Linked DNA regions of Homo sapiens: region 1 is linked to region 2. Evidence: promoter capture Hi-C in 16 types of primary human blood cells and fetal thymus (Javierre and others, 2016). All regions are on one chromosome and are shown on one strand. The core of a region is centred on a gene start or on the middle of the fragment in contact, and the rest is flanking DNA. Distances in the headings are between cores, read along the strand shown.

The links. Contacts are between HindIII fragments. The CHiCAGO score rates a contact against its expected background, and 5 or more counts as called.
Region 1: a fragment that was not itself captured here is called in contact with the fragment with the promoter of QTMAN in region 2 in 1 of 17 cell types (M0 macrophages); the score reaches 5.2 in M0 macrophages.

Annotation. Positions count from the first base shown.
Region 1 is chr2:145,749,981-145,754,735 of GRCh38, reverse strand. No RefSeq gene overlaps it. Among named protein-coding and RNA genes, the nearest start is that of LINC01966, 870 kb to the right of the region's middle. RefSeq lists an enhancer at 2,652-2,701. The HindIII fragment of the contact is 6,682 bases long and covers 1-4,755 here.
Region 2 is chr2:144,331,240-144,336,053 of GRCh38, reverse strand. It overlaps QTMAN (queuosine-tRNA mannosyltransferase), which reads left to right and starts at 3,542. Exons shown (of 12, transcript NM_001376312.2): 1 at 3,542-3,615. RefSeq lists an enhancer at 2,909-3,486 and a silencer at 3,268-3,867. The HindIII fragment of the contact is 4,019 bases long and covers 129-4,147 here.

The sequences.
Region 1 (4,755 bases), core at 841-3,340, 1.4 Mb before region 2:
TTCCATTAGCCATAGTGCTTTTCCATATTTCCAGCAAAAATGTAGACGACTGTGCTTCCTAAACAAAACAAGAGAATGCAAAGGTAAAAAGCAGACAAATAGTCTTGGAAATGAAATGAAAACAAAAACCAAGTAAACAAAAATCCAGGAAATCTAAGAGGAATAAATGTAGAGCTGGAAGTAGTAAATCAGAAACAAATGGAAACATAGTGCTGTGTTTTCCATTACCCACTTTAACCGAACTCTATAGTTAAAACTTTTCATCCAGTATCTTAGCAATGTGGTAAGAACCTGTAATTGGTTTATTACTGAAAATCAATGCTGTTAAAAACCCCCTTGTCTGAAAAGGAAATCTAAATATAAGACTGATACAAATGGGTCTTTATATAATTGTATTTCTTAATTGATGATACATAATGTAATTCTTTATTGGGAAGGGGCTTCACCTGCCTCTAGGGAAGGGGTGTTGGTTGGAGAGACAGAGTGAAGCATGTGTAGGTTGCAGCCCCGGGCCCAGGGACTGACAGGTAGCTGTGTGAAAGGCCTCAGATCCTTTCCGGAGGCACCTAGTCCCCACTCCAGCTCCTCCCCCTCTTTAACCACAGCTCCAGAGCAAGTTTGTCTCTGCACATAGAGACTGGCCTCCGGCTGTAGCAGGTTGCAGGAACTGCCAATGTAGTGCATTGTTCTTGAGTTTCCACAGTCCTTCCTTCTCTATCTCCATCCTTTTACAGCAAGCATTTCTCCTCTTGTAAACAAACAAACAAACAAAAAGAAAGCAGTAATTATTTTTTCAAACACTTTCCTAATATAAGTTCTGGAAACATCTGCCTTCTTTCTACACTTTGTAAGCACAGGTTTGGGGTCCAGCAAGCGGTATTTTAAAAGGGCCATGATTATCTGGTACTAGAAACAGCAGCAGCAGCTCCTAATTCAGATCTTTTAAATCGGTCTTCTCAGAATACATACATTTGGAGTATTTGAAAACTTGGTCCTCTGAGGCCTGTTCCTTCTTCTCCCTGGATCTTACCTTTAAATGGCTGAAGATATAATGCCTCAGAGACTTAAGGTGAGTGGAGATAGATTTGCTAGGTCCCAGAGTAATCAGAAAGGCAAAATAGCTTTGTAACTCTGTCTCTCTCTGCATTATTCCCTGAAGAGCAGCTGCAGCAGAGTGTGGACCCCGTGTTTGCACATGGCAGAAACTGGGCTGCCTCACATTTAAGGCCTAAGTTAGCCAACTTGTCAATGAATGCCATTAGTGCAGACGGGCCACAGGCACTCAGGGATGGAGTGGCAGGCAAGCTCAGATCAGCTAAGGAAGAGCAGGCATCGGGTGGTAACAACTTTCAGTCATTACTGACCTGGGCTCTATTCAAACCAGTGACCTAGAAATGAAGGGCTCCAAATCCCATTACTAATTCCCCGAGCCATCAAGTCTCCCCTATGGCCTGGATCTTGTCCTGAAACCCAGGTCTCCTGTTGAAATAGCATTAAGACAGCAGCCACTGCGTTGGCAGGCAAGGTTTTTAAAATAAAGGGAGGGGAGGGAATGTGCACGTAGAGAGTTGGCTTTAATTATTACTTTAAAGTTTTTCAGCTCCTTTCAACCTAAAAACCTGAACCTTCTTTAAAGTCACATGCTTGCCAGCCAGCACAAAAATGGTGTTCAAACAAGCACAGCTTTTTTATTTTGTTTGAATGGTGAAAATACACAAGCCCCCTCCCAAATCAAGGAATAATGAGAGGAAACCAAATGAGAGGAAGTTGTTGGAAAGCAAAGAAAGAGATTAAATGAGTATTGCGAGGACAAGAATATTTACTGCCAAAATAAGAAAAGGAGCTAAATGAAAGCACCCTTAAGCCGCGTTCTTCCTCACTTCTTATCTCTCTGTCACTCTCTGAATCCCTCTCATCAAAGAGGGACAATTATTTTTAAGTAAAAATGTGGGATTTTTGTCAGTGAGGTGAAGCCCATGCAAAGTGAGCTGGATTAAAAACTGCATGTAAAGTTCTGTCTCGTGTTTTAAGCCAAAAGCTCCAACTTTACAAACTGTCCTGTAGATGGGGCTGTACTCTGCAATTCTAAGATCACTGCCTCAACAATGAAGCAATTGTTTCCTGTCTCCACTTAGCAATTCCTCCCTCTCTTTCAGTTCTTTCTGCTTGCATGTTCTATTTATTTTAATGTATACCTTTGTGTAGAGCCTGTCTCTGAGTGGTTAGATACCCCGTTGATATGTGGCCTTCAAGGGGGAAAAGGGAGTGCAGCCTATTCCCATGACATCCTAAGGCTTTGTAGAGCCAAAAAAACCTTCTCAGGAACACCTAATCCTTGGGCTCTGTCCAAGTACCACAATCTCTCTGTACAACTGACATGGGCCACTTGGGACACTTGAGAGTTTTAGGTGTGTCTCTCTGAAGTCAGCCCCGGCCAAGCATGAGGCAAATGTGCCCGACCAAAGAAAATAAATTATGTGGACTCCAATTTTCAGCAGTTATGAAGTATTGAATTACACATGCAAAGAATTCACTTTGGGATTAACCCTTTGGAACCGAAACACAATCTTGTCACAATGCCTGAGAAGGGAGCATGCTCTGAGTGAGGCCTGACTTTCCAAAGACACAGAGGTTGCTGACCAGGAGACAGAGATGCTCAATGCAATAAGAATGGAGATAAATGCAAATGTCTTATGTGGGCATGGAAGAGGGTATATGTCGGGGTTCTGCCCTGTCTCTGGATAGGCTGTTGCTGGCATTGTAAAGTTTAAGGATTCACTGCAAAGGCCACTTCAGCACTTAACGGGAATGCATCTTAGCATAATTCACACAGTCCCTGTGGCTGCTTCTTCATTCAGATTTAGAGAAGTGGTTGAAAGCCACTGGAACTTGACTGAAATCACAACTACAGAACCCCTGAAACGGCATTCATCCTCCATGACTCATTGAGCGATAGAAAAGGACATCCTGTCCTACCCCTTTAAGAATTCCTAGTTCCCCATAACCGTCTGAAGCACTAAGCTGTGAGTACACGACATAGCTGAAATTTAACACATAAACCCTGGAGTAGAAAAACAAAACAAGGCCATTTGTTTTCCCCTATAAAGCTATTTATTTACCAAATGACCATAGAAAGCAAACCTCCAACAATAACAGGAAACAATCAATCTTGAAAAACTTAGGGAAAAATTTTTTTGGAGCAAAGTTAACTTTTTAATAAAGTAGGTGTCTTGGGTATGCAAAGCAGGATGTCAGGAAACAGGCAACCTTGCCCCTCTTCCCCTCAGGTTATTATCAGAAAATGTGTGATCTACAGGAGGGACACTGTTTTGGGACTGATAAGCTGTGTCTACATAAAGATCCCTCACTTATTTCACATGTGCCCTGGAGGAAATAGAACTGTACAACGATATCCCTGGGAGACACTGTGGACCTCATCCACTGCCCTCATATTATCCAATGAAGAAACTGAGTTGCTCAAAGTTGCAACAGATACAGCTAAAAGCAGTAGGACATTTTATGTAACTTATTTCTAAAACAACAAATCTCTAATCAGAGAAATATCTCTATGTCTCAGTTGCTCTTGCCTGTTCAGAGGGATGATAACTATCTTTTCAAGTACTTGCTATTTTGAGTTATATGGAATATTTTGAGACACATGTAGAGATCTGCTAAAATGATTTGAGTGATAATAACTGGGTGTATGTGTGTTAATATGTGAGAAAAAAGAGAAAGAAATGAATGAGAGGGAGAGATAAAGACAGGGAAATAGATGAAGTTTCTGACATCATATGATTGTTGGGTGGAGTAACTAATAAAAGTAATTGCTAAGCACGGTGAAATTAGACTGCTGTGTAAAGCTAAACCAGGATGAACCAAAATTTGCAAATATCATGAGACTTTTATTTTCAACAGGTGGCATTTTAGAATGCAAACTAGTAGCATGCAAGTGAGAGCGCGCTGTAAAGGGGAAGAGATGTGGGGATTTACACACTTAGGAAATCGGGGTGACTAGAAAACAATGTTTTATGTTTGCAGTCTTACAGATCCACTTATTGAGAGGAATGGCTGATTAGAAATATGCTTAGAAAATGCTTCTCTTATTTTTACTGGCAGAGGGTTAACGTAGGTTTCTACTTACAAGGTAAGAAAATCTGCTGTGAAAGGAAAAAGCCAACTGACACTGCTTGTGGACAAATGTGTGTGAGCCAAAAACTGAAATGAGGCAGGCAATAAAACCATATCAAAGCCCACCCGTTGCCCCTATCACAATATTCTTACCAAATTGTCTTGCCTTTATCAGGCCCACCCTCACTTATTTACTGAGATAAGAAAGAACTTTTTTGCTGGCAAGCACCCCAAGTTTGATTTATCATTCACAATAGGAAGACTCTGCCAAGTAAGCCTTCATAATTCCCAGCCCTTAAAATTATTATCATCATTGGGTTTAAAAATAAGGCCAGAGGTGGTGGATGTGTACGCAGTATGACTGGAAAGAAGCTGGTTTGTTGAGGCTGGTTCTCTCTGCCAAAAAAGTATCATAAAAGAGGTGCCTAGTTCATGTCAGACCTAAGGAAATATTTTCCCCAAGCTGTTTGCAGATAGCACGGGGTTTGTGTAGTGTGACAGTTGTCCTAAGAATATATTAATTCTCCTAAACAGGAGGCGCAGACTCAAGCATCCTCTCTGAATATAATGGTGATCTTATTTGCCTGACCAAGGAATAAAAATGTTCAACCACAAGACATTTCCAAA
Region 2 (4,814 bases), core at 2,293-4,792:
ACAGTATTCCTCCCTGTTTCTATATAAACATACCTTCCAGTCCACATATGTTGTTCTTACCGTCCATGGAATTTACTCTCTATTGTGTCAGGTGCTTTGAACTTTTTTCTTCAACCAGATTGTAAGCTTCTGAAAGGCAGAGGCCCTTCCCTTTTTATACTTTTCTAGGCTTCCACACCTAGCAGAGTTCTGAGTAGAAACATACCAAAGTGCATTTGGTACTTATTTAACAAACACTTATTGATTTATTTCCTATTGTAATATTATATGCTGGATTACTGAGCACTTTTATATCAGTGGGGCTGAAGTAGAAATAAAAATTAGCTGACCATAAAACACCAGCAGGGACAGGAGCAGGGTGAGCATTTCCTTTTTTACCTTCTAATTCTATTTAAACAGTAAACTACAGTTTTCTGGAATGAGTTTGTGACGATGAGGGTCTACCTTGGGAAAATGTCTGGCTTCCTTGTCTATCAATTTAGAGGCTGTACCAGTGAGTGTTGATCATCTTCCAACTCTAAGGTGCCAAGTTCTGTATGTCCTGTTATTGACTCCTGCTACAATCCTAAAGTCATCTTGGACTTCATTCTCATCTTTGATTCTTACATATACTCAGTGAACCCAAGTCTTTCCTTAGTTGCATTTACGACCAACGATTCTTTTAAATTCTATTTGCTTCATCAGAACTGGACAAGGCTATGGTCCCCCTGTCTTGTCCTCCTTTCCCCATTGCAAGTCCACCCAGATGATTTCCTATTAGAATAAATATCTCAGGCTCAAATTTAGGCCCCTTATCAATGATCCTACTCTATTATTTCAGCTAGTTTTCTGTTGTTTCTAAAATGAATCTCCTGTTTTACCTCAGCTGATCTCCTATCTTTTTCTTGGTTATTGATGTGCTTATTTTCTTCTTAACTTCTTTATTTAAGCAATTTCCTTTACCTTTTTTCTCCATAAGGCAACCTAAATTCTAAATTTCACTTTTTGTCCTTTTTTGTTGTTATTGTTAAGAAGTCTTCCCTTAATTTACATGGATTATTTTCCATCTTAAAATTGGTAATTTACAATCGAATCCTTCGTTAGTAGTGTTGAATTATCATTTTGTGTTTCATATTTTACCTTCCCGGTGATGCTGTAATTTTCTTGGCAATAGGGTCTTAATAATTCTTACAATTAGGCAAAGACCTTGTCACCACCGAGGATGAATGCATTTGGTTGGTTCATGGCTCCGGAGGTCTGGCCAGAATTGCCTGGATCATGCAGATGAACCCTGACTGAGATGAAAGTTGTGCAACAGGAATCCTTGAAACCAGTGGGACAAAACAGCTTCGACAGAAATACCTTCCTAGCTAATGCCAAGTGCAATTTTATACATCACTCAGACCATGTAGGCAAAGCTGCAAAGTCAAGGAATTTTGATGTTGAATAGCTTTATATAAGTGTTAAATATTAACATGAGCCAGATGCTGGCAGGTATGTGAGACAGAAAGTCTGAGTTTGAACCCTGGCTTTGTTTCCAATTAAGCTGGGTAATATTGGGTAAACAACTTACCCTCTCTGGGCTTCAGTTCTTAATCAGATTAAAAAAGATTTAAAAATTTTTTTCATTTTAAAATGAAAGGATTAGACTCCCAATTATTTTAAGAACCAGTTTAATTATAAAATTATGTAATTCTATTTTTAAAACAATGAAATGGCAGCCATAAACTTTAGGATTTTTCAGATATTGTGGTTCGATTTAGAATTTTTCCATTTTACAATGGGTTTATCTGGATGTAACCCCATGGTAAGTTGAGCAGCTTCTTATGACTTATGATGGGGTTATGGTTTCTACTGAATGCACATACATTTCATACCATCCTAAAGTTGAAAATATTGGAAGTCGAGGACCATCTGCTGTGTTGCTAGCATTAAATGCAATTTTGGCTTACAATATTTTTAACCTACATTGTGTTTATTGGGAAGTAACCCCATCGTAAGTGGAGAAGCATTTTGTATTTTATTCTGTGTAATAGGATTTACTAGTTTCATGTGTAGTCAGAACACTCACTTTCAGGTTTTGGCATTTACTCTTTTCTGTTTCTCAATTTGTGTGAAAGTGGATGGACAGATGGTTTATTAGGCTTTCAAATGCTTACAATGCTGTTGTTCAATTCAACAATGGTTTTAAACTTTGAATGTCCACACAGAGCTGGATTTTGTTTGGAACGGAAGATAGTTTCGACGCTTCAATTTAAGGATAAGAATGTTTACTCACATAACTTAAAGCAACTTGTGGATATAAGTACAAAGACCTAATCGATTTCCTTTATTTTGGTATGTTTCCTAATTCATTTCCACATCACAGCCTAACTCTTCCGAGTTGCAGTTTTAAAAATGAAGTTACTTAATAAACCAGACATCCAGTTATATTTGCATGTTTTGCCTTCACCAGAGTCATTTAACCTACAACCTCCTTCCAGATACAAAAACCTTTACTTTAGAAAGGATCCTTTACTTCATAAAGGAATTTAACGAAGGGACACATTCCTCACTTTACAGTCAAGAACACCTGGGACTTCCTGGTACTCTTTCTACTATGTATTCTATAAATAAAAGAGCTAAAGTGAAATTAGGTCGCAGCGAAAAAACATCCAACATTTGTGAATTTTAAGCCCCAACAGAAAATCCCATTCCTTGAAATTCAAGTGGCAATGAGAATATTATTGCATAAGGAAAATATAGATGGAACTATGCAAGTCAAATGATGGTCTCCACTGCTGTCGCTTTGCTTTGTGATTTTTAATTACTCAATGTGACTCTCCTCGTGTAAATGGGACCGCGAATATGCAATTATTGAATACTCAAACTGCATCAGAAGTGTGTGGAGTAGTCAGAACCGAAAGGACGGGAAAAATGGAGATAAAGGAAAGCATGAGCCTTGCCAGGAGGGAATCGAGGAGGTCCAGAAGGAGGGATATTAAGAGGCATTGGCAAAGCAGCTGTGGAGGAGCTCCGGGCTGCAGAGCAGGTAGAGGTGTCGGCAAGGGAGCCAGGAACCCGCACAGGGGCCCTGAGGCTCTAGTAGGCCGGGGAGTGGACCAGGAAAGGAGATGCAACGGGCCGGCTGGAAAACTGCACGGGGAATCCGAGGTCGACCTAATGAACAGCACAGACCTTCCAGAAGGAAAGAGAAGGTGACTATGCGAGCTTAGAACAGGACTAGGAGGTTGGGGAAAGAGTACGAAAAAGCTGAAAGGGCGGACAGGGTGCTGACGAGATGGGAAAGGGCGCACAGGGAGGTGGGGAGCAGTGCGAGGCCGGGGGACAGTGGGCAGGTGCGAGGAGCCGAGCCCGCGGGCTGGGGCGGAGCGATTCGCGCGGGCGGGAGCGCCGCTGACTCAGGGACCTCGCGCCAGCGGAGTCCGGGCGGCGCAGAGAGGCGGAGCCTCGATTGCGCGGGCGGGCCGAGGGGCGGGACCAGCGCCTGACGCGCCCGGAGGCCGAGGCGGCCGCGGGCCGGGAGGGGCGGCGGCATCCGCGGCGGCCGCGGGGGAGGGGCACGGCGTCAGCGCGTCGCCGGCTGGGCCGCGCCGGTGGCCAGGAGGGAGAGACAAGGAGGAGGAGGAGGAGGAGGTGAGTAGGCTCCGGGCTGGGGAGCCGCGCGGGCCAGCGGGGAGGCGGGGAGCGCGGCCCCTCCCCTCCCCTCCCCGGCGCCCGCCTCGCGGGGCCGCGCTGCGCGGAGATCCCAGAGGGGCAGCAGCGGCGGCTGCGGCGCGGGGAGCCGGGGGCGGGGGGTGTGGGGGAGGCGGAGCTGAGAGCCGCGCGCTTCCCGGGCGCACGCGCTGCGCTCCCTGCGCCGCCGTCCGCACCGCGCTCGGAATGGGGCGTCACGCCGTGGCATTTTGTGCCTTCTGCAAACTGGTCGTGTTCGAATTGCGTTTTTTTGGTGCCTACATGTCGTGCGTGCTGGTTTTCTGCGGCCCGGCGCTCCGCTTCTTCCTCGCGCAGGCTGAGAGGACGGGTGGGGGCACGTCGCCCTCGCGCGGGAGAAGGGAGGCCGGGCGTCCGGGTTGGCCTGAGTTGGCTGGGGTGCTTCGCCGACCACCAGGCTGCCCGGCGCTTGGCCCCTTGCAGTGCGAGCCCCAGGCCTTCCTGACGGAAAGCTTCGCTTCTGGCTCCTAGTCGCCCTCAGTTACCAGACCTCCCCAGCGCCCCACTCCTCTCTGCCAGCCGAGTGTGAAGACCCTCACTGTGCCCCCCACCCCGGAATCCCTCGTCTGAGGATTAAGCACATAACTTCCCATTTTCATCGGGATCCAGACAATCCCATTCTGTCCAGGTGGAAAGATTCTCTGAATTTAAGTCTTGGGAATGCAGCAGCGAAATTTAACCTTTAGTCCCGAAGTAGTTTTTTTGCCTTCTCTCGCACATACAACTTTTAGAGTCTTCTGACAACTGTGCTGCTTTAGGTTATCTTGAGATTCTTAAGTTAATGCCTTGAGGCCGTGTGATGGGAGTTTCAAAGAGAAGGCTTTTACAGCTTTTCTTCCACCTGTATCGCAGTTTGAAATGGAAAACGTGAGTTGATGATGATTTTCCATACGAGATGGATTTCAGTTTGCAGCCCCGGCTGCCGTGGCTCACTTGGTTATTTGGTGCCTACCCCTGAAGTTGATTTTAAAGCTTAAAATAGTGGTTAGGTAAAGGAGCTGCTGAAAAAGAAGTTCAGTACAATTCAATAGAGCCATTCTATTGGCTTCTATTAACGTGTTTAACCTTAAGCTTTAACCATGACAGGAGTTTCATGTAGGAACCCACATACCAAGTGAAAT